7 separate regions of the Homo sapiens genome follow, and regions 2, 3, 4, 5, 6 and 7 are each linked to region 1. Evidence: promoter capture Hi-C in 16 types of primary human blood cells and fetal thymus (Javierre and others, 2016). All regions are on one chromosome and are shown on one strand. The core of a region is centred on a gene start or on the middle of the fragment in contact, and the rest is flanking DNA. Distances in the headings are between cores, read along the strand shown.

The links. Contacts are between HindIII fragments. The CHiCAGO score rates a contact against its expected background, and 5 or more counts as called.
Region 2: a contact is called between a fragment that was not itself captured here and the fragment with the promoter of THBD in region 1, in 1 of 17 cell types (neutrophils). The highest score is 6.2, in neutrophils.
Region 3: a fragment that was not itself captured here is called in contact with the fragment with the promoter of THBD in region 1 in 2 of 17 cell types (neutrophils and megakaryocytes); the score reaches 6.9 in neutrophils.
Region 4: a contact is called between a fragment that was not itself captured here and the fragment with the promoter of THBD in region 1, in 4 of 17 cell types (neutrophils, monocytes, M0 macrophages and 1 more). The highest score is 9.2, in neutrophils.
Region 5: a fragment that was not itself captured here is called in contact with the fragment with the promoter of THBD in region 1 in 7 of 17 cell types (endothelial precursors, M0 macrophages, neutrophils and 4 more); the score reaches 14.4 in endothelial precursors.
Region 6: a contact is called between a fragment that was not itself captured here and the fragment with the promoter of THBD in region 1, in 5 of 17 cell types (neutrophils, monocytes, M0 macrophages and 2 more). The highest score is 11.9, in neutrophils.
Region 7: a fragment that was not itself captured here is called in contact with the fragment with the promoter of THBD in region 1 in 6 of 17 cell types (megakaryocytes, M1 macrophages, M2 macrophages and 3 more); the score reaches 9.9 in megakaryocytes.

What each region holds. Positions count from the first base shown.
Region 1 is chr20:23,048,353-23,052,391 of GRCh38, reverse strand. It overlaps THBD (thrombomodulin), which reads left to right and starts at 2,720. Exons shown (of 1, transcript NM_000361.3): 1 at 2,720-4,039. The coding sequence starts at 2,888. The HindIII fragment of the contact is 6,749 bases long and covers 1-4,039 here.
Region 2 is chr20:23,429,978-23,434,016 of GRCh38, reverse strand. No RefSeq gene overlaps it. Among named protein-coding and RNA genes, the nearest start is that of CSTL1, 7.7 kb to the left of the region's middle. The HindIII fragment of the contact is 4,256 bases long and covers 1-4,039 here.
Region 3 is chr20:22,673,320-22,677,358 of GRCh38, reverse strand. The region is part of intron 2 of LINC01747 (long intergenic non-protein coding RNA 1747); the gene reads left to right. Among named protein-coding and RNA genes, the nearest start is that of LINC01747, 10 kb to the left of the region's middle. The HindIII fragment of the contact is 2,200 bases long and covers 982-3,181 here.
Region 4 is chr20:23,409,815-23,413,853 of GRCh38, reverse strand. All of the region lies in intron 1 of NAPB (NSF attachment protein beta), which reads left to right. Among named protein-coding and RNA genes, the nearest start is that of NAPB, 9.7 kb to the left of the region's middle. The HindIII fragment of the contact is 5,372 bases long and covers 1-4,039 here.
Region 5 is chr20:22,709,722-22,713,760 of GRCh38, reverse strand. No RefSeq gene overlaps it. Among named protein-coding and RNA genes, the nearest start is that of LINC01747, 26 kb to the right of the region's middle. The HindIII fragment of the contact is 1,933 bases long and covers 1,205-3,137 here.
Region 6 is chr20:23,377,529-23,381,567 of GRCh38, reverse strand. It overlaps NAPB (NSF attachment protein beta), which reads left to right. Exons shown (of 11, transcript NM_022080.3): 8 at 251-355; 9 at 1,633-1,701; 10 at 2,073-2,123. It also overlaps the pseudogene RNA5SP479. Among named protein-coding and RNA genes, the nearest start is that of GZF1, 17 kb to the right of the region's middle. The HindIII fragment of the contact is 527 bases long and covers 1,585-2,111 here.
Region 7 is chr20:22,732,856-22,736,894 of GRCh38, reverse strand. It overlaps the pseudogene KRT18P3. Among named protein-coding and RNA genes, the nearest start is that of LINC01747, 50 kb to the right of the region's middle. RefSeq lists a silencer at 1,677-1,776. The HindIII fragment of the contact is 829 bases long and covers 1,455-2,283 here.

The DNA.
Region 1 (4,039 bases), core at 1,471-3,970:
ATAGGGATGGGGCAAGAACACAGACAGGGGACCTTCAGTCACCAGAAGGTAGTCTAAAATATGCAAAGCCTCCAAGGTATTGGCTGGAGAGGAAAAACAAAGCGGCTGAGGGCAGGCCCCACAAGGCAAAGGTATCCTGAGGGTCAGGGGTAAAGCCCTTACAGGTGGGAAAGCCAAGTGGGTCATGTCCACCCATCCTTGTGTAGGGCAACCCAGACACTGTGGTACCCCCCATGGGACAATGCTCTGCTTCTATCTGTTGTTGCTCTAGTTTCTTTCTAATACAGAAACATCCAACATCTGCACCTCCTCATATAGGGTTGATCCAAGTTTCACAGACATCACTGAGTTCTTAGTGGACTCAGCTATTGGGGCTGTTCTCACACTTTTTTTTTCTTTGCAAGAATCAGCAATGGGTGCAAGTGGACCTGTGTAGGACGTCCAGTGAAACATTGTGTTGGTGAATCAGCTAGAATCCATCCAAGAACTCAGCCAGCCTGGTGTGGGGTGAGATCTGATCCTTGAATGTCCCTCAGTGGCTTTTAGGGCTGGCAGGTTCAGAAGGGCCCTCTCATCACCCCCCCAGGGCCTCATTCCTTGTTTAACACTTTGCTATCACAGTCTTGAATCCTTGTAATTGAACAATGGACCCCACATTTTCACTTTGCACTGGTTTCTGATTCTGTAACCGATCCTGTCCCCCTCTCTTGTCTCATTCACTCTGGGAATTGTCCCCACATTCTGAGACCTTTCAGCAGTGCCCCAACGAGGTTCCTGCCCTTATCTGAAGCTCCACCCTCACCCCCATGGCGGCACCGCAGGCAGCCCTGCTTTTGCGTCCCGCGTAGGCAGGCTGTGCACCGGAGTCACGACCCCCTGATTCAGCCTAGGCAGCCACAGCTTGACTGCTCCCGCCGGACAAGCCCTACTGTGCTATCTGCCGCTCTTCCCTTCCTCTTCCCAGGGGGTCCGCGTCAGGGGAGGCGCAGCTGTGTGCATTCCGGGAGCTTCAGACCCCCGTGTCCAGCAGCTCCTTCGTTTCCTGGGTGCTGGGGCGGCCTTCCCAGCGAAGAGCTCAACTCAGCGGGACGTTTGGAGGCTCTCTGCCCCAAGGCGCTGGGGAGTGTGCGGCGGGACAGTCGTGCTTGCCTTTTTCACTTTCAGAGTGTCCACGCCCCACCCGTTTGGTCACTGCAGGTCAGTCCAGTCCAGCCCGGCCCACCCCACCGGTGCGTGTCTGTCGCACGTGGCAGACGCCATACTCTCTGTTCTTGTTTAAAGCCCAGGATCTACTGGGCCCTGGAGGCAAGAGGTGAACGCAGCGGAATCCACGCTGAGCTGCCCGGGAACGGAGCTTCCAACCCCAGAAGGAGGACTCTGTGCTCCTACACCTTAACCCTTTTTAGCCCGAAACTTCTCCAACTTCCTTGGCTTTGTTTAGAGCTCGACAGCGCCGCCCCCTGGCGCTCGTTGTGAGGACAGTAGAGGAGAGAGGCAAGGGTGTTTTTAAACAGTTTGCCTCTCACCATTATGGGGGCGACCCGAGGGGGAGACCCACTCTTCCGCATTCCCGGTAAGTGAACCACCGGAAGAGGTCGAAAGTGACGGATTCCCATGTCCTCCTCCAGCCCCCCCCCCACCCTGCCCATCCACAGGACGGTGGCTCTTCAGTGCCCTTTGCCGAGCAAGTGGCGTTTCTATGCACGTGGGTATCAATTCGGACTCTGGACGAAATGGAAACCTCCTTAGCCGACCCGGGTGGGATCAGCTGGGATCCTGCGCGCTCCCCTGGGGGGTTGCCAGCCACTCTGTTGGGGTGCAAGAAGCACCATCCTTCGGAAGCTGGGCCGAAACTGGCCAGGCTGACTCGCTCCCACGCGCCCGCCCCTACCCGGCGCCGCAGCAATTCACCTGCCACCGCCTCTGAGCCGGGTCCGGACTTCGGCGCCCTGACAGTGTCCCCGCGACTTCCCCACCCGATGAGATGGGGTCTGGCGTTGGCCAGTGCGTGTCCAGGGACTCGCGGGTCCCTGGCCAGCCATGGGGCAGAGGGCGCTGGTGTTAGGCCAGTCTTCCCCACCCTGCCCCGTCACCCCAGCCACACCCACTGTCCTGTGAGGCCAAGCGCGCTCCGCTGGTTTCCTGAGCCAGGCACCTTGGCCGCGGACAGGATCCAGCTGTCTCTCCTTGCGATCCTGTCTTCGGGGAAGTCCACGTCCTAGGCAGGTCCTCCCAAAGTGCCCTTGGTGCCGATCACCCCTCCCAGCGTCTTGCAGGTCCTGTGCACCACCTCCCCCACTCCCCATTCAAAGCCCTCTTCTCTGAAGTCTCCGGTTCCCAGAGCTCTTGCAATCCAGGCTTTCCTTGGAAGTGGCTGTAACATGTATGAAAAGAAAGAAAGGAGGACCAAGAGATGAAAGAGGGCTGCACGCGTGGGGGCCCGAGTGGTGGGCGGGGACAGTCGTCTTGTTACAGGGGTGCTGGCCTTCCCTGGCGCCTGCCCCTGTCGGCCCCGCCCGAGAACCTCCCTGCGCCAGGGCAGGGTTTACTCATCCCGGCGAGGTGATCCCATGCGCGAGGGCGGGCGCAAGGGCGGCCAGAGAACCCAGCAATCCGAGTATGCGGCATCAGCCCTTCCCACCAGGCACTTCCTTCCTTTTCCCGAACGTCCAGGGAGGGAGGGCCGGGCACTTATAAACTCGAGCCCTGGCCGATCCGCATGTCAGAGGCTGCCTCGCAGGGGCTGCGCGCAGCGGCAAGAAGTGTCTGGGCTGGGACGGACAGGAGAGGCTGTCGCCATCGGCGTCCTGTGCCCCTCTGCTCCGGCACGGCCCTGTCGCAGTGCCCGCGCTTTCCCCGGCGCCTGCACGCGGCGCGCCTGGGTAACATGCTTGGGGTCCTGGTCCTTGGCGCGCTGGCCCTGGCCGGCCTGGGGTTCCCCGCACCCGCAGAGCCGCAGCCGGGTGGCAGCCAGTGCGTCGAGCACGACTGCTTCGCGCTCTACCCGGGCCCCGCGACCTTCCTCAATGCCAGTCAGATCTGCGACGGACTGCGGGGCCACCTAATGACAGTGCGCTCCTCGGTGGCTGCCGATGTCATTTCCTTGCTACTGAACGGCGACGGCGGCGTTGGCCGCCGGCGCCTCTGGATCGGCCTGCAGCTGCCACCCGGCTGCGGCGACCCCAAGCGCCTCGGGCCCCTGCGCGGCTTCCAGTGGGTTACGGGAGACAACAACACCAGCTATAGCAGGTGGGCACGGCTCGACCTCAATGGGGCTCCCCTCTGCGGCCCGTTGTGCGTCGCTGTCTCCGCTGCTGAGGCCACTGTGCCCAGCGAGCCGATCTGGGAGGAGCAGCAGTGCGAAGTGAAGGCCGATGGCTTCCTCTGCGAGTTCCACTTCCCAGCCACCTGCAGGCCACTGGCTGTGGAGCCCGGCGCCGCGGCTGCCGCCGTCTCGATCACCTACGGCACCCCGTTCGCGGCCCGCGGAGCGGACTTCCAGGCGCTGCCGGTGGGCAGCTCCGCCGCGGTGGCTCCCCTCGGCTTACAGCTAATGTGCACCGCGCCGCCCGGAGCGGTCCAGGGGCACTGGGCCAGGGAGGCGCCGGGCGCTTGGGACTGCAGCGTGGAGAACGGCGGCTGCGAGCACGCGTGCAATGCGATCCCTGGGGCTCCCCGCTGCCAGTGCCCAGCCGGCGCCGCCCTGCAGGCAGACGGGCGCTCCTGCACCGCATCCGCGACGCAGTCCTGCAACGACCTCTGCGAGCACTTCTGCGTTCCCAACCCCGACCAGCCGGGCTCCTACTCGTGCATGTGCGAGACCGGCTACCGGCTGGCGGCCGACCAACACCGGTGCGAGGACGTGGATGACTGCATACTGGAGCCCAGTCCGTGTCCGCAGCGCTGTGTCAACACACAGGGTGGCTTCGAGTGCCACTGCTACCCTAACTACGACCTGGTGGACGGCGAGTGTGTGGAGCCCGTGGACCCGTGCTTCAGAGCCAACTGCGAGTACCAGTGCCAGCCCCTGAACCAAACT
Region 2 (4,039 bases), core at 876-3,375, 380 kb before region 1:
TTAAGACACATTTTCTCCATAAGGCACCTCACAGTCTTCTTGTGCCTAGGAACTAGATAGCACTGCAGCACTATGCCTGGGGCCATTTTAATCAGCAAAATCACCAACCAAAAAAAGCACAAAACTCAAACCACATGTGATAGCTCATACCTGTAATGCCAACACTTTGGGAGGCCAAGGCTGAAGACACTTGAGCTCAGGAGTTCGAGATCAGCCTGGGCAACACAGCAAGACCCCACCTCTAAAAAAAAAACCAATACAAAATTGTGAAACGTGGCACTAAACAGGCTGTGAAGAAGGACACATTAACAATATAAGAGCTAGAACAAGGCTGGGAGTGGTGGCTCAAGGCCAAGGCAGGTGGATTACCTGAGGTCAGGAGTTCGAGACCAGCCTGATCAACATGGGGAAACCCCATCTCTAGTAAAAATACAAAACTTAGCTGGGTATGGTGGCACGTGCCTGTAGTCTCAAATACCTGGGAGGCTGAGGCAGGAGAATTGCTTGAACCCAGGAGGTGTAGGTTGCAGTGAGCTGAGATCGAGCCACTGCACTCCAGCCTGGTAGACAGAGTGAGACACCATCTCGAAAACAAACAAACAAACAAAAACAACAACAGTTGGAACAAGAAGGCAGATTGCTGCTGTATTTGACCTCAGCTTGGAACATATGTGTCAGGCCACCCACATTTTTGCCCACTCTGAGCGTCTGTGAATGACGGCAAAAGTGCCACAAGTGTTGATTTTAGGAATGCAACTTAATTTTAGCAAGTAGGTGAGTTTGCAAATATGAAATCCATGAATAATAAGGGTTGACTGTGTTTTTAAAGACAGTTACTACCATGTTAAGAGTAGATTTGCGAAGACCCAGTTCTTCCCACCTGATAATGAAGAAATGCTAGTACCGCACCCTAAATAAGCCTGGGACGGTGTAATCTAGTGATGGGGAAATTATTTCACTTTCCAAGACAGTCTTAGATGTTTCCATAAGAGCCAAATGTGATGCAAACCAAATATGCCACCGTGGAAAAAGGTTTTGTGAAATCTGATTTATTCAACTATTGGCCATTAACAACCAATTACAAACACTTATAGCAACAGAGAAAATATATGTTTCATAAACAAACAAAAAATACAAACTACAAGCATACTCCTAATAATACTTACACATGTGTAAGTTTGATGGATAAAAATGAGATAGCACTATATATGTATAAAAAATTAAAAATGTTTCATTGAGCAGGTAGAATTATGAGCATCTTTTTTTCCCTAAAATTTCTCCTAATGTAATATTAAATAATCATGTGAAAGGAATTCAAAGAGTATGTGAGAAATAAACCATTTTTCCCTTTAAGCAGTTGTGTCTGTGGCTCACAACCATTTAACTTACATTAAGCATAGATAAGAAAGGTCCTAGAATATATAATATAAATAAAAATTGTCAAAATGATCTTATGCCCATTTGCCATAAATAAAGGCATCAAGTTAATTTCAAAACTTGTTTTTAGACTTTTACATCAACTAATAAAAAGAAGAATATTTGGTCGGGCACAGTGGCTCATGCCTGTAATCCCAGCACTTTGGGAGTCTGAGATGGAAAGACTGCTTGAGCTCAGGAGTTTGAGACCAGCCTGGGCAAGAGAGCAAGACCTCATCTCTACTAAAAATAAAAATTAAAAAACAACTGGGTTTGGTGGTACATGCCTGTAGTCCCAGCTACTCAGGAGGCTGAGGTAGGAGGACCACTTACGCCTGGGAGATTTAGGCTGCAGTGAGCTTTGATTGTGCATTTTATTTTTTTTTATTTTTTTTTTTTGATGCTGTATTCTTTATTGCATCTTATCGACTGGTGCATGATTTCGGTTTTTCTCATTTTTTTTTTTTTTTTTTATTATACTCTAAGTTTTAGGGTACATGTGCACATTGTGCAGGTTAGTTACATATGTATACATGTGCCATGCTGGTGCGCTGCACCCACTAATGTGTCATCTAGCATTAGGTATATCTCCCAATGCTATCCCTCCCCCCTCCCCCGACCCCACCACAGTCCCCAGAGTGTGATATTCCCCTTCCTGTGTCCATGTGATCTCATTGTTCAATTCCCACCTATGAGTGAGAATATGCGGTGTTTGGTTTTTTGTTCTTGCGATAGTTTACTGAGAATGATGGTTTCCAATTTCATCCATGTCCCTACAAAGGATATGAACTCATCATTTTTTATGGCTGCATAGTATTCCATGGTGTATATGTGCCACATTTTCTTAATCCAGTCTATCATTGTTGGACATTTGGGTTGGTTCCAAGTCTTTGCTATTGTGAATAGTGCCGCAATAAACATACGTGTGCATGTGTCTTTATAGCAGCATGATTTATAGTCCTTTGGGTATATACCCAATAATGGGATGGCTGGGTCAAATGGTATTTCTAGTTCTAGATCCCTGAGGAATCGCCACACTGACTTCCACAATGGTTGAACTAGTTTACAGTCCCACCAACAGTGTAAAAGTGTTCCTATTTCTCCACATCCTCTCCAGCACCTGTTGTTTCCTGACTTTTTAATGATTGCCATTCTAACTGGTGTGAGATGATATCTCATAGTGGTTTTGATTTGCATTTCTCTGATGGCCAGTGATGATGAGCATTTCTTCATGTGTTTTTTGGCTGCATAAATGTCTTCTTTTGAGAAGTGTCTGTTCATGTCCTTCGCCCACTTTTTGATGGGGTTGTTTGTTTTTTTCTTGTAAATTTGTTTGAGTTCATTGTAGATTCTGGATATTAGCCCTTTGTCAGATGAGTAGGTTGCAAAAATTTTCTCCCATGTTGTAGGTTGCCTGTTCACTCTGATGGTAGTTTCTTTTGCTGTGCAGAAGCTCTTTAGTTTAATTAGATCCCATTTGTCAATTTTGGCTTTTGTTGCCATTGCTTTTGGTGTTTTGGACATGAAGTCCTTGCCCACGCCTATGTCCTGAATGGTAATGCCTAGGTTTTCTTCTAGGGTTTTTATGGTTTTAGGTCTAACGTTTAAATCTTTAATCCATCTTGAATTGATTTTTGTATAAGGTGTAAGGAAGGGATCCAGTTTCAGCTTTCTACATATGGCTAGCCAGTTTTCCCAGCACCATTTATTAAATAGGGAATCCTTTCCCCATTGCTTGTTTTTCTCAGGTTTGTCAAAGATCAGATAGTTGTAGATATGCGGCATTATTTCTGAGGGCTCTGTTCTGTTCCATTGATCTATATCTCTGTTTTGGTACCAGTACCATGCTGTTTTGGTTACTGTAGCCTTGTAGTATAGTTTGAAGTCAGGTAGTGTGATGCCTCCAGCTTTGTTCTTTTGGCTTAGGATTGACTTGGCGATGCGGGCTCTTTTTTGGTTCCATATGAACTTTAAAGTAGTTTTTTCCAATTCTGTGAAGAAAGTCATTGGTAGCTTGATGGGGATGGCATTGAATCTGTAAATTACCTTGGGCAGTATGGCCATTTTCACGATATTGATTCTTCCTACCCATGAGCATGGAATGTTCTTCCATTTGTTTGTGTCCTCTTTTATTTCCTTGAGCAGTGGTTTGTAGTTCTCCTTGAAGAGGTCCTTCACATCCCTTGTAAGTTGGATTCCTAGGTATTTTATTCTCTTTGAAGCAATTGTGAATGGGAGTTCACTCATGATTTGGCTCTCTGTTTGTCTGTTGTTGGTGTATAAGAATGCTTGTGATTTTTGTACATTGATTTTGTATCCTGAGACTTTGCTGAAGTTGCTTATCAGCTTAAGGAGATTTTGGGCTGAGACGATGGGGTTTTCTAGATAAACAATCATGTCGTCTGCAAACAGGGACAATTTGACTTCCTCTTTTCCTAATTGAATACCCTTTATTTCCTTCTCCTGCCTGATTGCCCTGGCCAGAACTTCCAACACTATGTTGAATAGGAGCGGTGAGAGAGGGCATCCCTGTCTTGTGCCAGTTTTCAAAAGGAATGCTTCCAGTTTTTGCCCATTCAGTATGATATTGGCTGTGGGTTTGTCATAGATAGCTCTTATTATT
Region 3 (4,039 bases), core at 832-3,331, 370 kb after region 1:
CTCTGCCCTCATGTTCACATGGCTCTCTCCCTGTGTGTGTGTGTCTGCGTCCCAGCCTCCCCTGTTTATAAGGACATAGTGGCATTACATGACTACTATTACTCTGATAGGGCCTCATCTTAACTAACTACATCTGCAAATAACCCATTGCCACATAAGGTAGCATTCTGAAGTACTAGGGGCTAGGACATCAACATAGGAATTTGGGGAGCACATAATTCAACCCATGATAATGATTATCGTGATTATTATTAAGAATATATAACCACTGTAGGATGAAAGCAAATACTGTAAAATCCTACTCATAGGTTTGCAGGGATTAAATGGCATCACTGGAAAATTGTCTGACACAAAGAAGGGGTTCAACAAATGTTGTTTTACTTCCTCACTGTCAGCCTAAATATAGAAAGTATTTGCTCATTGGCCCGACAGACAAGTTTTGACTTCTAGTTTTATACCAGCTTTATGTATACATGCTTATATGTCGTATGTGACATTTTGTACATATAAACATTAGTTCTGCCTTCTAATGCTATTTTGAAATCACCTTTCCCTTGTTAAAGTGTTCTTTTGAAATTATATAAAATAGCTGAATAGTATTTTAAAGCCAAAATGCTACAATTTACTTGCCATGTTTTATAATTTGCTTACATTCAGATGGTGTACCATCTTGTGTTCTGTTATGAAATAGCACAACCATGCATAAATGACCCTGCCATCCTACCCCTAGAACTTTATTTACCATGAAATGCCTCCACGTACTTTCATTTGCATGTCTTGAGAACTGAACCGTAGACCCCTCTTCCCTGTCAGTGTTGACCATCGATATTTCCTCCCACATGTGGCTTCTGTTTCTGTCTCTGGGCAGATTTATTCTAACCTGCCCTCAAATCTGTAAGAAGATTGTTCATTCCCTAGGGCTAGTCCAAGTCTCCTGGCCTGGTGCTTACTTCAAATTCACCTAAATCTGGCATAAAAGCTTTCAGGACAAGGTGGATCAAACTGCGCCCTTGTGTGAGTACTCCCTGGACAGAATGTCTGGTTATCTTCGGTGTAAGTTATTTCCCATGACTCACAAATAGAAATCAGGAGAGGAGGGAGGTAGGAGGTGCAAGCCTCTGCAGCTGTCTGGAGAGTCAGCAAAAGGGAGACAGAATCTTTAGTTACTTCACATGTGTGACAATACGCCTATGTTTTGTTTTATGTTGTTTATTTCTTATGTAACATTGTTGAGTTATCAAATGAAGTGGTGTATAAAAATGTCAAATAAACAGGTTCTCTCCCTTTCTTCCTGACCACATAACTCTAAGAAGCATGGCCAGACCCGCCGGGCGCGGTGGCTCACGCGTGTGATCCCAGCACTTTGGGAGGCCAAGGAGGGCAGATCACGAGGTCAGGAGATCGAGACCATCCTGGCTAACACGGTGAAACCCCGTCTCTACTAAAAATACAAAAAATTAGCCGGGCATGGTGGCGGGCGCCGGTAGTCCCAGCTACTCGGGAGGCTGAGGCAGGAGAATGGCGTGAACCCGGGAGGCGGAGCATGCAGTGAGCCCAGATCAGGCCACTGCACTCCAGCCTGGGCTACAGAGTGAGACTCCCTCCAAAAAAAAAAAGAAAAAAGCCCGACCAGACCTATGGCTCAGTGGCGTCTATACACGGCCACATCTGAGAAAGCCAGGGATGGGTGGCCTCATCGTACCCCAAGCACAAGGCGTCATCCACGCAGCCCTGCTGGTTTGATAGCAGCAGCCCGGGAGAGCTCTAGGGATTTTCATTTGGTGGGCTTGTCTATTCTCTAGCTCACCCTCAAAAGGGGAAGTGCCCAGAAAGTCACCAGCTGAAGCAGGCTCAGAAGACCGGGGCCCATTTGCTCATTTGTTCCTTGCACAGAGTTTAGGAAGGTACCCATCCTGCAGGAAACACAACCTGGCTTCTCGAATAAATGAGTTGCAAAGAATGGAGACGGGGAGATAGGGAGAAAAGGAGGTCAGGGCAGTGGAGTGTGAGGCAAAGAGAAAGAAAGGGAGAGAGTTGGGGAGGACACCTGCCAGTTAAAGGAGATTGAAAACAACTCACTGCAATAGGTAATTTAGCTCCTAATTTAAAGAAACCGCTAAAAAAAGATTATGATATTTATGAGACAATTGGAAATATAAACATAAACTGGATATTTGATGATACTGAGGAAATTGTTGCTCATTATTTTACATACAGTAATAGTATTAAGATTGTATTTTTTTCAACTTTTATTTTACATTCAGGGGGTACATGTGCAGATTTGTTACCTGGGTATATTGCGTGATGCTGAGGTTGGGGTACAAATAATCCCATTTCCTGGATATTTTTTTTTTTTTTTTTTTTTTTTTTTTTTTTTTGAGACGGAGTCTCACTCTTTCGCCCAAGCTGGACTGCAGTGGCGCTATCCCGGCTCACTGCAAGCTCCGCCTCTTGGGTTCATGCCATTCTCCTGCCTCAGCCTCCCGAGTAGCTGGGATTACAGGCGCCCACCACCACGCCCGGCTAATTTTTTGTATTTTTAGTAGAGACGGGGTTTCACCGTGTTAGCCAGGATGGTCTCGATCTCCTGACCTCGTGATCCGCCCGCCTCGGCCTCCCAAAGTGCTGGGATTACAGGCGTGAGCCACCGCGCCCGGCCCATTTCCTGGATATTGAGCGTGGTATCTAATAGTTGCTTTTTCAATTTTGACCCCCTGCCTACCCCTCACCTCTAGCAGTGCCCAGTGTCTATTGTTGCTTCTTTATGTCCATGAGTACCCAATGTTTAGTTTCCACTTAGAAATGAGAACTACTGGCTTTCTGTTCCTGCCTTAATTTACTTAGGATAAGGGCCTCCAGCTGCATCCAAATTGCTGCAGAGGACATGATTTTGTTCTTTTTTTATGGCTGCATGGTATTCCATGGTGTATTTGTACCACATTTTCTTTATCCAGTCGATATGATTATATTTTTTAAGATGACTTCTTATATTTTAGTGGTACACAGCAAAACATTTACTGGATGAAATGATATGATGGTGACAGCATAAAGAAACCAGTTGGCTATAAGTTTGTACTTATTTAAGCAGTGACCTAGAGTTTTCATTAGGGAACTCACTCCATAAATGTCAAGATAAGGAGACCTTTTCTCTGAACTCTAAAGAGAAAAGTTTCTCTAAGCTTTTATCAACAGTGGGATGAGGAGCAGGCCACCTGCACTGTGGGTGATGCAGAATTGATAGGGGCTGGTGTCTGCACCTCACCCTTCAGCTTCAGGATGTCATACAAACTTTATTTGGTGAAGCCCTGGGTCCCACCCTGCCCTCTGCTGCACCTGGAGTAGCTAAGTCGGGAGTCTCTTGTTTCCATTTCTCCCAGTAATGTGGTCTGCATGGGGAAGGCAGGCCCATGCCTGCATGGGGAAGACATGGCCTGATCGTTGATGATGCTGAGGTTTGAGGCACAAATGATCCCATTGCCTGGATACTGAGCATAGTGTCCAATAGTTAGTTTTTCAACCCTTGCCCTCCTGCCTCCCTCCCTGATAGTGTCACGCTTTCCTTTCCAGCACCCCCCACCCAAGCCTTGTGTATGTGCTAATTCCTCACTCTGCTCTGGGTTGGGTAATCCTTCCTGTACACAGGAAAGGAACAGGTGAGAATGGCGGCTCAGTTCTAGGTAGGATACAGGCAACCTGCAGCGCTCCCCCTGAAGGCTTGGCTCAATTACACATTCTTATCTGCCCATTTGTCAACAAATAGGGACCTGCTCTGCCCACAGCGCTGGTGGATGCAGTAAACCAGGTCCCCGCTGTCCGTGAGTTTTGCCCTGTTTAGTGCAAAGGTATCAAATGACTGAAGACAATTAGCATCCAACAATGGGAATAAAATTGAATACATCGATGTGGATTACAGTCAACCTAAGCTGGTAGTCTATTTATGTAAAATTTGGACAAAACTAACCTAGCCTGATAAAAGTCAAGTCAGAGGTTGCCCTGGTAGGGTCAAGGAAGGCGGTTAGCTGGGCACACATGTAAGGGA
Region 4 (4,039 bases), core at 556-3,055, 360 kb before region 1:
GGGGCTTTTGATGGGTATTTCTTTGATAACTTTCTTGTTTTTGTCTCTGGAGTTTGTAATGTTTAAATTTTCTATCTCTACTGAGGTCAATTTTGGTAAATTGTGTTTTCCTAGGAAATAATTCATTTTATCTAAGTTTTAAAAAATGTATTTGCATTGTGCATAGTAGTCTTTTCTGACTTTTAAAAATGTTCTGTTTTAGTAATTTTCTTCTGTCACTTTATTTTTGTGTTTGTGTTTTTCCCCTTTTTTCCTTGATTCTTTTTCTCTAAACAACCAATATTTTGATTGATTTGTTCTACTGGTTTTGTGTTTTCTGTCTTACTGACTTATACTTTTATCTTTATTGCTTTCTTTGGCTTCTTTTGTTTTTCCCTCTGGTTCATTTTTCTAGGGAGGTGTTTATTCACTGTTTTCATTGCTTTATTTGTATGGATTAAAATATTCATGGCTATACATTTTTTTCTTAAAACTGCTTCAGTTGTATTTTATAGATCCTGTTACATAATGTTTTTATCTTAGTTTGTTTCCCCTTTGTTGCAAGAGGCTTTTATTGTAAGGGTTTTATTCCAGGTAGAAAGAATGGCCTTTCTTTGTATATTATTACTTAAACTTTTTTTTTTTCATTATGATCAGAGAACTTACTGAGATTTTCGTTGCCACTTAATATATTGTTGGTGTTCATGAATGGTCCAGGTACACTTTACTTAAAATTTTTTTTTCGACACGGAATCTTGCTGTGTTTCCCAGGATGGTCTCGAACTCCTGGCCTAAGCAATCCTCCTGCTTTGGCCTCCCAAAGAGTGCTGGGATCATAGGCATGAGCCACCTGCACCCAGCACCCATGTACACTTTATTTTTTTGGAGACAGAGTCTCACGCTGTTGCCCAGGCTGGAGTACAGTGGTGCGGCTCACTGCAACCTCCACCTCCCAGGTTCAAGCGATTCTCCTGCCTCAGCCTCCCCAGTAGCTAGGAATACAGGCACACGCCACCACACCTGGCTAATTTTTGTATATTTAGTAGAGACACGGTTTCACCGTGTTGGCCAGGCTGGTCTCAAACTCCTGACCTCAAACGATCCAATTGCCTTGGCCTCCCAAAGTGCTGGGATTGTAATCTCCCATGTATACTTTAGAAGGTGGATATTTTCTTATCAAATTTTGATAGAGATCCCTCTTGTCTAGTTATTGATTATATTGTCTCTGTCTTTCATGTCTGTATTTTCTGTTCACTTGATCTGTTTTGGGGGGCATATTAATATCTGCTTTCTTATAAGTGTATTTCTATCTTTTTTAACGTTTGCAATTTCTGCTTTATAAAGGGGGCTACTGTGTTTTTGGTACATAGATTTTCACAACTAATATTATTATGAATTATATTTTTAGCATTATGAAGTGAACTTCTTTATTTCATTTAAAGCCTTTGAGCCCAAATTCTACTTTGTTTCATTGCAGGGTAGCAATCTCTGTTTTCTTACTGCTTGTGTTTGCATTCCTTAGGACTGTATTATGTAAGAGGATCATACATGCTGTCTGTTACCTTGTGCCCTCTGCTGCCAGTTGTGGCCATGTGACTGACTTTGACTGATGAAGTATGAGTGGAAGGCACTTCTGCCATGGCTTTTACCCTTCTGTAAGAAATTAAGAAGAGTATATATACCGGATAAGTGCTACATTCCAGAGTAGAGAATGATGACACTTGGAGAAAGAGGCAGCAGTCACAGCCAGTCTGCAGTAAACAAGTCAAGTGACTGAGAGAAGCCTTTGGGAGATGTCAGGGTTATTTGCTGTTATGACAGTTCTAATGAGAGCTGCTTGATTTGTTTGGTATACTTTTGACCATCTCTTTATTTTAAGCCTTTCGGAATAGGTATTTTAGTTGTGTTTCTTGTACTGAGCACAAAGTTGGGTTTTGTTTTTTGAGCAGATCTGAAAATGACGAGTATATGATTGGTTCTTAACTGTCATACTACTATATTTACTGTATATTATATTTTCATTGCTATTTGTCTTCATGTCTCTTTTTTTATTTAGGAAGGTTTGTAATTTTGTTCTACTGGTTACCTTTATGCTATAAATGTTTTTAAATATCCTTAGCTCCTTTTCCTTACTTAGGCGCCTATTATTTTGTTCACTCCAGAAAACTCCTGTTACCTATGTGCTTCTCAGTGAGCACGTTCTACATCTCTTGTTCTCTAATATCCCTTTTTTTTTAAGCTGTTTGTACTTTGTCAGACATAGAAGTGTTTCCCTATTATTTTTCTACCCTTGTCCTTACATTTTGTCTTAGATCTACAATACAACATATGCAGTGACACCACCAGTCATTTCAGCTATGTTTCCTAGTCATCTCTTAGTTATCCCTTGGGTCCTGGCTTACACTGGGGGTTGCATGCTGGATGGCCTGGTTGTATAATCCTTGGCTCACACTTTTTTCCCCCTTGAGTTTCTGGTAAAGCATTGTTCCACTGTTGTTTTGCTCCGTATATTGCTGTTGAAGTCTTAGCCTGATTTTCTTAGTTTTATAAGTAACTTTGAGTTTTTATGTGGAAGCCCAGAAATGTTCTTCATTTATAAAATCTAGTCATCTTACTAGGATATGTTTCACAGTAGACTATTCTGGGTCAGTTTTCCAAGTACATGTAGGCCTGTTCAGTATTTCGATTCATGCCTTTTGTTTCCAGAAAATTTTCTCAGATTGTGAAAATGGGTTTTTTCTTCCCCTCTTTAGGGACTCTCATTACATGGATATTGGCTCTTTGCCCATCCTGTATTACTTTTACTTAGATCCTTTTCTCTTCATTTTTGTTCTCTTGGCTGTTTTCATAGTTTTCCTTATTGTCAGTAGAATCTGCTTTCCCCTTAGGTATGCTATAACAGAGATTTTATTTCTGAGATCATTTTGTCTTTTTATTTCTATCCTTCTAGAATTTGAAACAAGAGTTCATCATCTTATTTTTTTGTGTATTTCCATGATGAGTTTTTAAATTTCTAGCTTATGATGTACTTTCATATCTGTTTAATAATATTTCAGTCATATGGAATTGTTTTCCTGTGCCTTGTGATTGTTTTAGGGAACGTATTTTAATTCTTGTTTCTTTTTTGTTTTGGGGCTTTTTTGGTATGGCTCATTTTTATTTTAATATTTGTTCCTTTTTTACAACTTTTATTTTAGAGTCAGGGGGTACATATGCAGGTTTGTTAACTGGGTATATTGTGTGATACTGAGGTTTAGGGTACAGATGATCCTGTCACCCAGATACTGAGCATAGTACCCAATAGTTTTTCAACTGTTTCTCTCCCCATACCCCGCTAGTGTCCCCAGTGTCTACGGTTGCCATTTTTATGCCCATGGGTATCCAGTGTTTAGCTACCACTTATAAGTGAAAACATGCGGTATTTGGTTTTCTGTTCCTGCATTAATTCACTTAGGATCTTCTTTCTTATGTAGTAGCTTCATATGGATGCTGTTTCTCCTTTCTGTTTAGTGTAGAGAGTCACAGAGTTTCTTGGACACACAATAGCATGTGTTTCTGTGATAGGAGATGAGCGGTTTGTGTGACTTCATGGGTTTCTTAGTTTAAATGCTGCGTTGTGTAGGTACAGTTAAGTGCGGTTTCTTTAATGAATGGTGCTGTGGAGGGGTAGGTTTGTGTGACTTCTAATTCTGTGATACTCTTTTGTTTCAAGAACGTATTTCCATCACTTGCCTTCTTTCCTTTCACTGCCAAACCTCCATAGAGCTGCCCCCACCTTCTAAGTTGCCTTCTCCCAGAAGCAGTGTCTTCTGGAAACTGCAGCCTGTGGCAAAGCCCTTCTATTCAGTTCCCAACTGCAGTGCTCTAACCTGCCAGGTCTTCCACCTGGTCTGGGGTGTTTGCCCACCCTGGTAGGGCACTTCCTTGCTGAGAGTTCTTCCCTGGACAATGATTGCCAGGTTAAACTCCCCTCTCCTGTCGACAGACGCCCCTCTGACTGGCAGCAGAGGCAGTGTTGCTAGCTCTGGTAGTTTTGGATTTTTTATTTCCTAAATTATAT
Region 5 (4,039 bases), core at 922-3,421, 340 kb after region 1:
AGAATCTACAAGGAGCTTAAACAAGTTTACAAGAAAAAAACAGACCAGTCCATCAAAAAGTGGGCAAAGGTTATGAACAGACACTTCTCAAAAGAAGACATTCATGCAACCAACAAACGTATTAAAAAAAAAAAAACTCAATATCATTGCTCATTAAAGAAATGCAAATCAAAGCCACAGTAAGATACCATCTCATGCCAGTCAGAATGGCAATTATTAAAAAGTCAAGAAACAACAGATGGCAGCAAAGTTGTGTAGAAATAGGAACAATTTTACACTGTTGGTGGGCATGTAAATTAGTTCAACCATTGTGAAAAAACGGTCTGGTGATTCCTCAAAGATCTAGAACCAGAAACACCAATTGCTCCAAGAATTCTATTTCCGAATATATACCCAAAGGAATATAAATCATTCTGTTACAAAGATACATGCACACGTATGTTCATTGCAGCACTATTCACAATAATAAAACATGGAATCAACCCAAATGCCCAGTCAATTATAGACTGAATAAAGTCAATGATAGACTGGAATCAACCCAAATACTCAGTCAATGATAGACTGGATACAGAAAATGTAATACATATACACCATGGAATACTATGCAGCCATAAAAAGGAACAAGATCATGTCTTTTGCTGAGACATGAATGGAGCTGGAAGCCATTATCCTCAGCAAGCTAATACAGGAACAGTAAACCATACACCACATATTCTCACTTATAAGTGGGAGCTCAACAACAAGAACCCATGGACACAGGGAGGGGAACAACACACACTGGAGCCTGTAGTGGGGTGGGGTTGGGGGAGAGAGAGCATTAGGAAAAGTGGCTAATGAATACTAGGCTTAATACCTAGGTGATGGGTTGATAGGTGCAGTAAACCACCATAATACACATTTACCTATGTAACAAACCTGCACATCCTCCACATGTACCCTGGAACTTAAAGATAATTTTTTTTAAAAAATGACTGTGGCTTCTGTCTTGATCGATCTCTCTCTCTCTCTCTCTCCCTCCCCCCGCCCCCTCTCCTCCCTTTCTTGGATTGCTCACCCCAGGGCAGCAGGTAGTAAGTCAGCCCTGTACAGGGAGCCTACATGGCAAGGAGCCGAGCCTGCCAACAGCCACATGAGTGAGCTTCACCCACTCCCAACTCATCAGACCTTCAGATGACACTGCAGCCCTGGCCCACAATTTGAAGCTTCATGAGAGCCCTTGAATCAGACACACCCAGCTAAGCCACAAATGGATTCCTGGCCCACAAAGATAATAAATATTTGTTGTATTAATCACCTAAATTTTGGAGTAATTTGTTATACAACATAGATAGCAAATATAGTCATCTTATCTAGAAGTCACTTCTCTTTATTATTCAAAGAAGTGAGGGTCAGGGTTAGTGGGTTTCATTTCTTGCCTAAAACATTTCCACCAGACCCTGCCCCAAACACCATGCATGGGCCCTGGGGGTCAGAGATCTAAAGAACACCTCCTACAAGCTGTGTGACCACATTTAACCTTGTTTAACCTCTAAACCTGTTTTTCATCTTTAAAGTGGTATCTGGTCCATTGATCTAAACCTTTTTCCTCACCTTTGAAATAGGATCTAGCCCATTAATCCCTGAGGATGATTAAAGGAGATAGAGTGCATGAAAGTCCTAACAGTCTCTGGCACATGGTGGACATTCAGTAAACATTCCCTCTCATCCCCATATCAAGCACAATAACAGCCACTAGCAGAGCAAATTAGCTTCCAACAAATGGCTGATCACAGTTCAAAGTGGATTGCAACCATTTTGCAAAAGATGCAAGCCTATATTCTGTTTCTTTGTGGTATCTCTGAGGAACAACTAGAGAGAAGGCATGGAGTCTACTCATACCCTAATGTCTAAAGACCTGCTTCACAGAAGTATCTCTGTTGCTAATCAGGTGGCCATAGGCAAGCCAGCCTCTCTGCGCTGTGACTTTCTCAACTTAAAACAATGCTGACTCCCACTTCCCAGTCCAGCATGTAAGGAGCTTGGAAGCTGTCGCTCTGTCCTCACAACAAGTGAGAAGCTGAACAAACTACAAAATCAATAACTTTTTATAGACTCTTCAGAAAAGTAAGGTCACAAGGTAAACTGCTGCCTTTAAAAGTGTAAAGATGGTGGTACAGCGAATCACAACTTAGCATAGAAGAAACTCAAAGCAGACACCTCTGTGGGAACCCATGCTGTGGTAGGAAGACCTGACCCATAACTGACAAATTGCTGGAGGTTCAGCGTGGCCAAGCCAGCAAGATGAAAACAGGCTGGGAGAGTGCAGTTAGAGGGAAACCTCAACACTTTTGTGAGTTTTACCTCCAGGAGCCCAGCATGCTTCACAACAAAAATGGGAGAAAAATTTCTTCATGCTTCTGGCAGGAGGAGGGAAATAGAAACCATTATTAAATATGCCAGAGCACTCTGCTCTTTTTAACAAGATCTGCCCTCAGGAGAAACTATTTAGCCAGAACCTAACCTAAGGTTAAGTTTTACCAGACTCTACCCTGCCTGGGAGAAGCAAAATTCCCAACTCCAGCAGCTCTACCCTTCCACATAGAAGAGAAGTACACAATTCCTGACTTGTCTATCCATCATGTCCCACCTAAGAAGTGGGGAGACAGAAAAGCACTTACAAAGTTTACAACCCAGAGTCACAGACTCTCTGAAAGACTCAAAACTAATCACAGGACTATAGAACATTTCCCCTTCCCCCACACCTTACCACCACATCATTAAAGGCCTGTTTAAAGGCATCCCTTTTACCCAATACATCATATTCAAGTATCTAGAAGAAAACACAAGGAATATTAAAAGGCAAAAAACAAACAAAGTTTGAAGACACTGAGTGAACATCAAAACCAGAGTCAGATGTGGCAGAAATGTTGAAATTGTAAGACCAGCGATTTTCCTAAAACTATGATTAGTATGCTAAGGGCCCTAAATGACAAAATAAGCAATATACAAGAACAGAGGATAATGTGAGTAGAGATGGAAATTCTGAGAAAGAATCAAGAAGAAACTATAAATATCAAAAACACTGTAACAGAAATAACAAATGCCTTTGATAAGCTCATTAGTAGACTGGGCATGGCTGAGGAAAGAATCTCTAAGCTTGAGAATATGTCTATAAAAACTTCCAATACTGAAAAGCAAAGAGAAAAAGACAGAAAAAATAAAACAGAATATCCAAGAACTATGGAACAGCTACAAAAGAGGTTATATATGTGTAATGCGAATACCAGAAGGAGAAGAAGAAGAAGGAGCAGCTGTGGTTTGAGTGTGTCTCCCTAATTTCAGATGTTGAAAATTCAATCACCAAATTCACATGTTGATTAGAGGTGGGACCTTTGGGAGGATTAGATTAGGTCATCAGGTCCCCATGACAGGACTGGTGGTTTTATAGGAAGAGAAGAAAGACCTAGGCTTACACACATGCTTTTGCCCTCTCACCATAAAATGATCTTCACCATGTTATGACTCAGCAAGAAGGCCCTCCTCAGATGCTGACACCTTCATATCGGACTTCCCAGGCTCCAGAACTGTAAGAAATGCATTTCTTTTCTTTATAAATAGCCCAATCTGTGGCGTTTTGTTATAGCAACAACAACAACAAAAAATAAGGCTGGACGTGGTGGCTCACGCCTGTAATCCCAACACTTTGGGAGGCCAAGGCGGGCAGATCACAAGATCAGGAGATTGAGACCATCCTGGCTAACACAGTGAAACCCAGTCTCTACTAAAAATACAAAAAAAAAAAAAAAAAAATTAGCTGGGCCTGGTGGCGAGTGCCTGTAGTCCCAGCTAATCAGGAGGCTGAGGCAGGAGAATGGAGTGAACCCAGAAAGCAGAGCTTGCAGTGAGCCAAGATTGCGCCACTGCACTCCAGCCTGGGTGACAGAGAGAGACTCTGCCTCAAAAAAAATAATAATAATAATAGACAAAAACAGAAGATACATTTGAAGCAATAGTAACAGAATTTCATCAATTTTTTGTCAGACAACAAACCACAGATCCA
Region 6 (4,039 bases), core at 599-3,098, 330 kb before region 1:
GAAAGGATGTTTACTCCATCTTATTGGAAGCAGAATTCTTCTGAGCTATTTTTAACTGGTTAAGACTTCATGTATTTAATGGTCTTGTCTAGTAAAATTTCTACTATATGGTATTCGGATAAAATAATATATTTCATAGCTAAACAAACATAAGATACATAATTATTTTCTAAAGGACAACAGATGAGAATGACTTTGCCTGATATAAGAGGGTAAATCTTTTAAATTTAACTCTGCGTTCTGTGCCTAGGTTGGGGCAAACACAATGGATAATCCTTTGTTGAAATACAGTGCAAAGGATTACTTCTTCAAAGCTGCCCTCTGCCACTTCATAGTAGACGAGTTGAATGCCAAGGTAAGGAGTTCTTCAGCATTGATTGACTGATTTCACCCATAAGAATACGTACACATTCTCTCTTGTTCTTGGTATCATTTCATTTTGATGTTAGTACCAAGAATAAACGGGTACATTAAAAATAAGTATTATTCTGTGGTATGTGTCCCAGTTGTAATCTTTTAACAGCTGTCAAAGCTGTTCTCAAAAGTTACCTGATAGTTTATAGCCATACCACCCTGAACACACCCAATCTCGTCTGATCTCAGAAGCTAAGCAGTGTAGAGCCTGGTACTTGAATGGGGGGCACTGCCTGGGAATATTTAGTGCTATAGGCTTAAATATATGTATATGTTCACTGGTAGCCACCATTTTTTTTTCAGTAGTTTTGCTTTAAAGAAATTAAGGGGGCCAGGCGTGGTGGCTCACATCTGTAAACCCAGCATTTTGGGAGGCCAAGTGGGGTGGAGCACCTGAGGTCAGGAGTTTGAGACCAGCCTGGTCAAAATGGTGAAACCCCGTTTCTACTAAAAATATAAAAAAATTAGCTGGGTGTGGTGGCGGGTGCCTGTAAGTCCAGCTACTTGAGAGGCTGAGGCAGGAGAATCACTTGAACCTGTGAGGCAGAGGTTGCAGTGAGCTGAGATCGCACCACTGCACTCCAGCCTGGGTGACAGAGTAAGAGTCCGTCTCAAAAAAAAAAAAGAAAGAAATTAAGGAACTAAGGGAGGAGACAATAAGAGTAGGATAATATCCATTTAAAAAACAACCAAAACAACAGGCAAGCTCAGAAATGGTGTTGGAGTGAGGACTGGGAAGAAGTTGAAAAGCACAGTGAGCACTGGGAGCCAAGAGGCAAAAAGACAGGCAGCCTTGGCATGGCCAGTGTCTGGAGTTGGAAGAGCAGAACTAAAGCCAGTAAGAGAAACTGTTCTTTCTGTCAGCTTCGAGCAGGAAGCTAAATGTAATTTATTTGGAATCTGGACTGTATTAAGAACGTCTCCATTTAATGGATGGATACAGATACCTGGTCTGTGAGTGTTTAAGAATTCATTTTCATTTACAATGTCTTCTCAGCAGCAGCCTAACTCAGAAAAAAGTAGTTTAGAAATTATTCTTTATTGAAATGGAAAATTCAGAATAGAAAGATTTTCTATGTTGATTCTGCTTTTGAGTTTAACTACATACTTTTTCAACACTTAATAGGATATAGGTAGATCTTATTTGAAGCTGATAGAATGTTGAAAGCTTTGTTTGTTTAGTAAGTCTGAAATTGATGAGTGGTTTTTCTCTCTCAGCTTGCTCTTGAGAAATATGAGGAAATGTTTCCAGCATTTACTGATTCAAGAGAATGTAAATTATTGAAAGTAAGTAATATTAGAACTTTGAAGAAAAATGCTTTTGTTCTGTTAGGTGACAACACCTAAGTGGGATTGGGTATGAAGTGAAGTTTTAATCTATAAAGTCTGCTAACTGAGGGGCCCTGGTACTTTCCTGCTTTCGTATTATAGGTGTTCAAATGCAATTAAGGTCAGAAACATGTAGTTGTGTTCTGAAATAGGCACCTGAGAAATGTTACTACAGAAGCTAGATCCCTAACTTGGCTCTTGACTTGTATATGAGTATTTCCTCAGTTTTGTGCAATATTTGGCAACATTGGTATTATACTTAAAGTATATATTTAGAAATGGGACTTCATCTTACAGAACTGTTTTTTAAAATATTTTTATGCTACCAGAAACTCCTAGAAGCTCATGAAGAACAGAACAGTGAAGCTTACACTGAAGCAGTAAGTTATGCTTTTGGGACATGGTACATTATTTGAAGATTTAAGTTAAAGAAACTTCTTTTCCTTTTCATTATGTGAATTCTAAACATTTATTTGAACATGACTCCAGCATACCTTAAGTTGTATTTTCCAAACGTCACCTTTTATATATCACACAAATTAAACAGTTCCATTAGCCATGCTGAGATTCGACTTACACTCAAAACTAATTTAGCTGTGAGACTAGTTCAGGAGCAAATATTCCATTTATATTCTTATAATTTGCTGTTTTAATTTTTTCTTTTGAAAATAATCTGACCCATAAATAAGTATAAAGTAAAATTAGTTAAGGCCAGGCACGGCGTCTCACACCTGTAATCCTGGCACTTTCGGAGGCCGAGGCAGGCAGATCATGAGTCAGGAAATTGAGACCATCCTCGCCAACATGGTGAAACCCCGTCTCTACTAAAAATATAAAAATTAGCCAGGCATGCTGGCACACGCCTGTAGTCCCAGCTACTCGGGAGGCTGAGGCAGGAGAATCGCTTGAACCCGGGAGGCAGAGGTTGCAGTGAGCTGAGATTGCACCACTGCACTCCAGCCTGGTGACAGAGCGAGACTCTGTCTCAAAAAAAAAAAGAAAAAAAAAATTAAATATAATTTAAAATATAAAAACTAAGTAGTGAGAATTTGCTGTATTTGTGGCATGAAATAAATGGAAGGTGGCCAGGCACGGTGGCTCACACCTATAATCCTAGCACTTTGGGAGGCCAAGGCGGGTGGATCACCTGAGATCAGGAGTTTGAGACCAGCTTGGCCAACATGGCAAAACACCATCTTTACTAAAAATACAAAAATTAGCCAGGCATGGTGGAGTGTGCCTGTAATACCAGCTACTCGGGAGGCTGAGGCAGGAGAATCTCTTGAACCCAGGAGGTGGAGGTTGCAGTGAGCCAAGATCACGCCATTGCATTCCAGCCTGGGCAACAAGAGTGAAACTCCATCTCAAAAATAAATAAATAAATAATAAATATATATATATATTAAAAATATGAGGGTTTTTTTCTTTATACTTTTTGTTTTTCCATCTTTTGCCATCTCATGTTTAGAATCAAGCAAAAAAAAATGTTTTTATATATTTTGAAACAGATCCTCACTCTGTCACTCAGGCTGGAGTGCTGTGGTGTGATCACGGCTCACTGCACCCTCAACCTCCTGGGTTCAGGTGATCCTCCCACCTGAGACTCCTAAGTACCTGGGACTACAGGTGCACACCACCACCCCCAGCTAATTTTTTTTTTTTTTTTTGCATTTTTTGTTGAGACAAGGTTTCACCATGTTGCCCAGGCTGGTCTCTTAACTCCTGGGCTTAAGCTATCCACCTGCCTTGGCCTCCCAGACTTCAAGGATTACAGGCATGAGCCACTACATCCAGCCTCAAGCAAATTTCTCAGTAGCCTCCTGTAACATGTTCATCACAGCTCAGGAGTGATAGAGGAAAGGAATGTTTTCCTGTCTGACTTTTGCCTACCACATCATTTTCATCCTATTGTAATTTTATTTTTGGGTAATGCATTGAAATGTGTTAATTCCGCTTCCATACATATTCTAACTCTGTAATTAATGTTTTCCCATGTTCAGTGAGTATTAATTTTCCATATTCCTTTCAAATTTTTATACAATATCCAGTTACTTTTGCCACAATAATTATGACTGTTAATGAATTTTTTTCTTACACGTTTGAAAACAGAGAAATGTCAAGCCCAGGAACTTGTCACTAGTATCAAAATAGTAACAGGATAATGAAAAAATAAACAATTTTTTAATGAAGAAAGTTATAAACTGGAATGATTAATTTCAAATGATGAAGAAAGTTAGTAGATTATGGCTGTAAAGGTATAAACAGCTTGGGGTACTATTATTTTGTGTTTTTAATG
Region 7 (4,039 bases), core at 620-3,119, 310 kb after region 1:
GGGTCTCCTGAATACATCACACTGATGGGTCTTGACTCTTTACCCAATTTGCCAGTCTGTGTCTTTCAATTGGAGCATTTATCCCATTTACATTTAAGGTTAATATTGTTATGTGTGAATTTGAGCTTGTTTTTATGATGTTAGCTGTTTATTTTGCTCGATAGTTGATGCAGTTTCTTCTGAGCATCGATGTTCTTTACAATTTGGCATGTTTTTGCAGTGACTGGTACTGGTTGTTCCTTTCCATGTTTAGTGCTTCCTTCGGGGGCTCTTTTAGGGCAGGCCTGGTGATGACAAAATCTCTCAGCATTTGCTTGTCTGTAAAGGATTTTATTTCTCCTTCACTTATGAAGCTTAGTTTGGCTGGACATGAAATTCTGGGTTGAAAATTCTTTTCTTTAAGAATGTTGAATATTGTCCCCCACTTCCTTCTGGCTTGCAGAGTTTCTGCAGAGAGATTCGCTGTTAGTCTGATGGGTTTCCCTTTGTGAGTAACCCGACCTTTCTCTCTGGCTGCCCTTAACATTTTTTCCTTCATTTCAACTTTGGTGAATCTGAGAATTATGTGTCTTGGAGGTGCTCTTCTCGAGGAGTATCTTTGTGGTGTTCTCTGTATTTCTGGAATTTGAATGTTGGCCTGCCTTGCTAGGTTGGAGAAGTTCTCCTGGATAATATCCTGCAGAGTGTTTTCCAACTTGGTTCCATTCTCCCCATCACTTTCAGGTACACCAATCAGACATAGATTTGGTCTTTTCACATAGTCCCATATTTCTTGGAGGCTTTGTTCATTTCTTTTTACCCTTTTTCTCTAAACTTCTCTTCTCACTTCATTTCATTCATTTGTTCTTCCATCTCTGATACCCTTTCTTCCAGTTGATGGAATTGGCTACTGAAGCTTGTGCATTCTTCATGTAGTCTCATGCCATGGTTTTCAGCTCCATCAGGTCATTTAAGGACTTCTCTACACTAGTTATTCTAGTTAGCCATTCGCCTAATCTTTTTTCAAGGTTTTTAGCTTCTTTGCATTGGGTTCAAACTTCCTCCTTTAGCTCAGAGGAGTTTGATCGTCTGAAGCCTTCTTCTCTCAAGTCGTCAAAGTCATTCTCCATCCAGCTTTGTCCCATTGCTGGCGAGGAGCTGTATTCCTTTTGAAGGGGAGAGATGCTCTGATTTTTAGAATTTTCAGCTTTTCTGCTCTGTTTTTTCCCCATCTTTGTGGTTTTATCTACCTTTGGTCTTTGATGATGGTGACATACAGATGGGGTTTTGGTGTGGATGTCCTTTCTGTTTGTTAGTTTTCCTTCTAACAGTCAGAATCCTCAGCTGCAGGTCTGTTGGAGTTTGCTGGAGGTCCACTCCAGACCTTGTTTGCCTGGGTATCAGCAGCGGAGGTTGCACAACAGCGAATATTGCTGAGCAGCAAATGTTCCTGCCTGATTGTTCCTCTGGAAGCTTCGTCTCAGAGGGGTACCCAGCCATGTGAGGTATCAGTCTGCCCCTACTGGGGGGTCCCTCCCAGTTAGGCTACTCGGAGGTCAGGGACCCACTTGCGGCAGTCTGTTCATTCTCAGATCTCAAACTCTGTGCTGGGAGAACCACTACTCTCTTCAAAGCTGTCAGACAGGGACGTTTAAGTCTGCAGAGGTTTCTGTTGCCTTTTGTTTGGCTCTGCCCTGCCCCTAGTGGTGAGTCTACAGAGGCAGGCAGGCCTCCTTGAGCAGTGGTAGGCTCCACCCAGTTCGAGCTTTGTTTACCTACTCAAGCCTCAGCAATGGCAGGTGCCCCTCCCCCAGCCTCGCTGCCACCTTGCAGTTCAATCTCAGACTGCTGTACTAGCAATAAGCGAGGCTCTGTGGGCATGGGACCCTCTGAGCCAGGCATGGGATATAATTTCCTGGTGTGCCATTTGCTAAGACCATTGGAAAAGCACAGTATTAGGGTGGGAGTGACCCTATTTTCCAGGTGCCATCTGTCACCCCTTCCCTTTGTTAGGAAAAGGAATTCCCTGACCCCTTGTGCTTCCGGGGTGAGGTGATGCCTCATCCTGCTTCAGCTCACATTCAGTGGGCTGCACCCACTCTCCTGCCCCCACTGTCCGACGAACCCCAGTGAGATGAACCCAGTACCTCAGTTGAAAATGCAGAAATCACCCATCTTCTGCATCACTCATGCTGGGAGATGTAGACTGGAGCTGTTCCTATTCGGCCATCTTGGAACTGCCCCCCGATTTTCTTAACTGTGTGTTTTACCAAGCAGAAACTTTTAATTTTAATTAATCAAGCTTATTATTTTTTATGGGTTTTGCCTCTGGCGTTATATTGCCATATCCAAGTCATTGATTTTCTCCTGTTATTTGCTGGGAGGTTAATAGTTCTGCATTTTATATTTAGGTCTATGCTCTATTGGATTAATTTTTGTGAAGGATGTAAGATTTGATCTAGATTCATTTTTTTTACACAGAAATGTCCAGTTGTTTCAGCACCATTTATGGAAAAGACAACATTTCTCCATTGCATCCCCTTTGATCCTATATCAAAGAGTAATTGACTATATTAATGTGGGTCTATACCTTAGCTCTCTGTTCTATTACTTTGAACTATTTGTTTATTCTTTCATCAATACCTCACCATCTTGATTACTGTAGCTTTCAGTAAGCCCTGAAGTTGGTTAGTGTAAGTATTCTGACTTTCTTCTCTTTCAATGTTGAGTTGGCTATTCTCGGTCTTTTGCTTTTCCATATAAACGTAAAATCAAGATGGTCAGCAAAGCCTGAGTCCTGTCCTCTCGCTCTCCTCCTCGGACAGCATGAGCTTCACCACTCGCTCCACCTTCTCCACCAACTACTGGTCCCTGGGCTCTGTCCAGATGCCAAGCTATGGTGCCCGGCTGGTCAGCAGCAAGGCCAGCGTCTATGAAGGTGCTGGGGCCTCTGGTTCCCTGATCTCCATGTCCCACTCCACCAGCTTCGGGGGCGGCATGGTGTCCAGAGCTCTGGCTGTGGGGATGGCTGAGAGTCTGGCAGGAATGGAAGGCATCCAGAACAAGAAGGAGACCAGGCAAAGCCTGAATGACCACCTGATCTCCTACCTGGACAGAGTGAGGAGCCTGGAGACCAAGAACCAGAGGCTGGAGAGCAAAATCTGTGAGCAATTGGAGAAGAAGGGACCCCAGGTCAGAGACTGGGGGCATTACTTCAAGACCATAGAGGACCTGAGGGCTCAGATCTTTGCAAATACTGTGGACAATGCCCACATCGTTCTGCAGATTGACAATGCCCATCTTGCTGCTGATGACTTTAGAGTCAAGTATGAGACAGAGCTGGCCATGCTCCAATCTGTAGAGAGCTACCTCCATGGGCTCTGCAAGGTCATTGATGACACGAATGTCACTCGGCTGCAGCTGGAGACAGATCAAGGCTCTCAAGGAGGAGCTGCTCTTCATGAAGAAGAACCACAAAGAGGAAATAAAAGGCCTACAAGCCCAGATTACCAACTCTGGGTTGACCATGGAGGTAGATGCCCCCAAATCTCAGGACCTCAACTAGATCATGGCAGACATCCAGGCCCAATATGACGAGCTGGCTCAGAAGAACTGAGATGAGCTGGACAAGTACTGGTCTCAGCAGATTAAGGAGAGCACCACAGTGGTCACCACACAGTCCACCGAGGTTGGAGCTGCTGAGATGATGCTCACAGAGCTGAGACATACAGTCCAGTCATTGGAGATCAACCTGGATTCCATAAGAAATCTGAAGGCTAGCTTGGAGAACAGCCTGAGGGAGGTGGAGGCCCCCTACACCCTTTAGATGGAGCAGCTCAATGGGATCCTGCTGCACCTGAAGTCAGAGCTGGTACAGACCCGGGCAGAGGGACAGCGCCAGGCCCAGGAGTAGGAGGCCCTGCTGAACATCAAGGTCAAGCTGGAGGCTGAGATCTCCACCTACTGCCGCCTGCTGGAAGATGGCGAGGACTTCAATATTGGTGATGCCCTGGACAGCAGCAGCTCCATGTAAACCATCCAAAAGACCACCACCCACCAA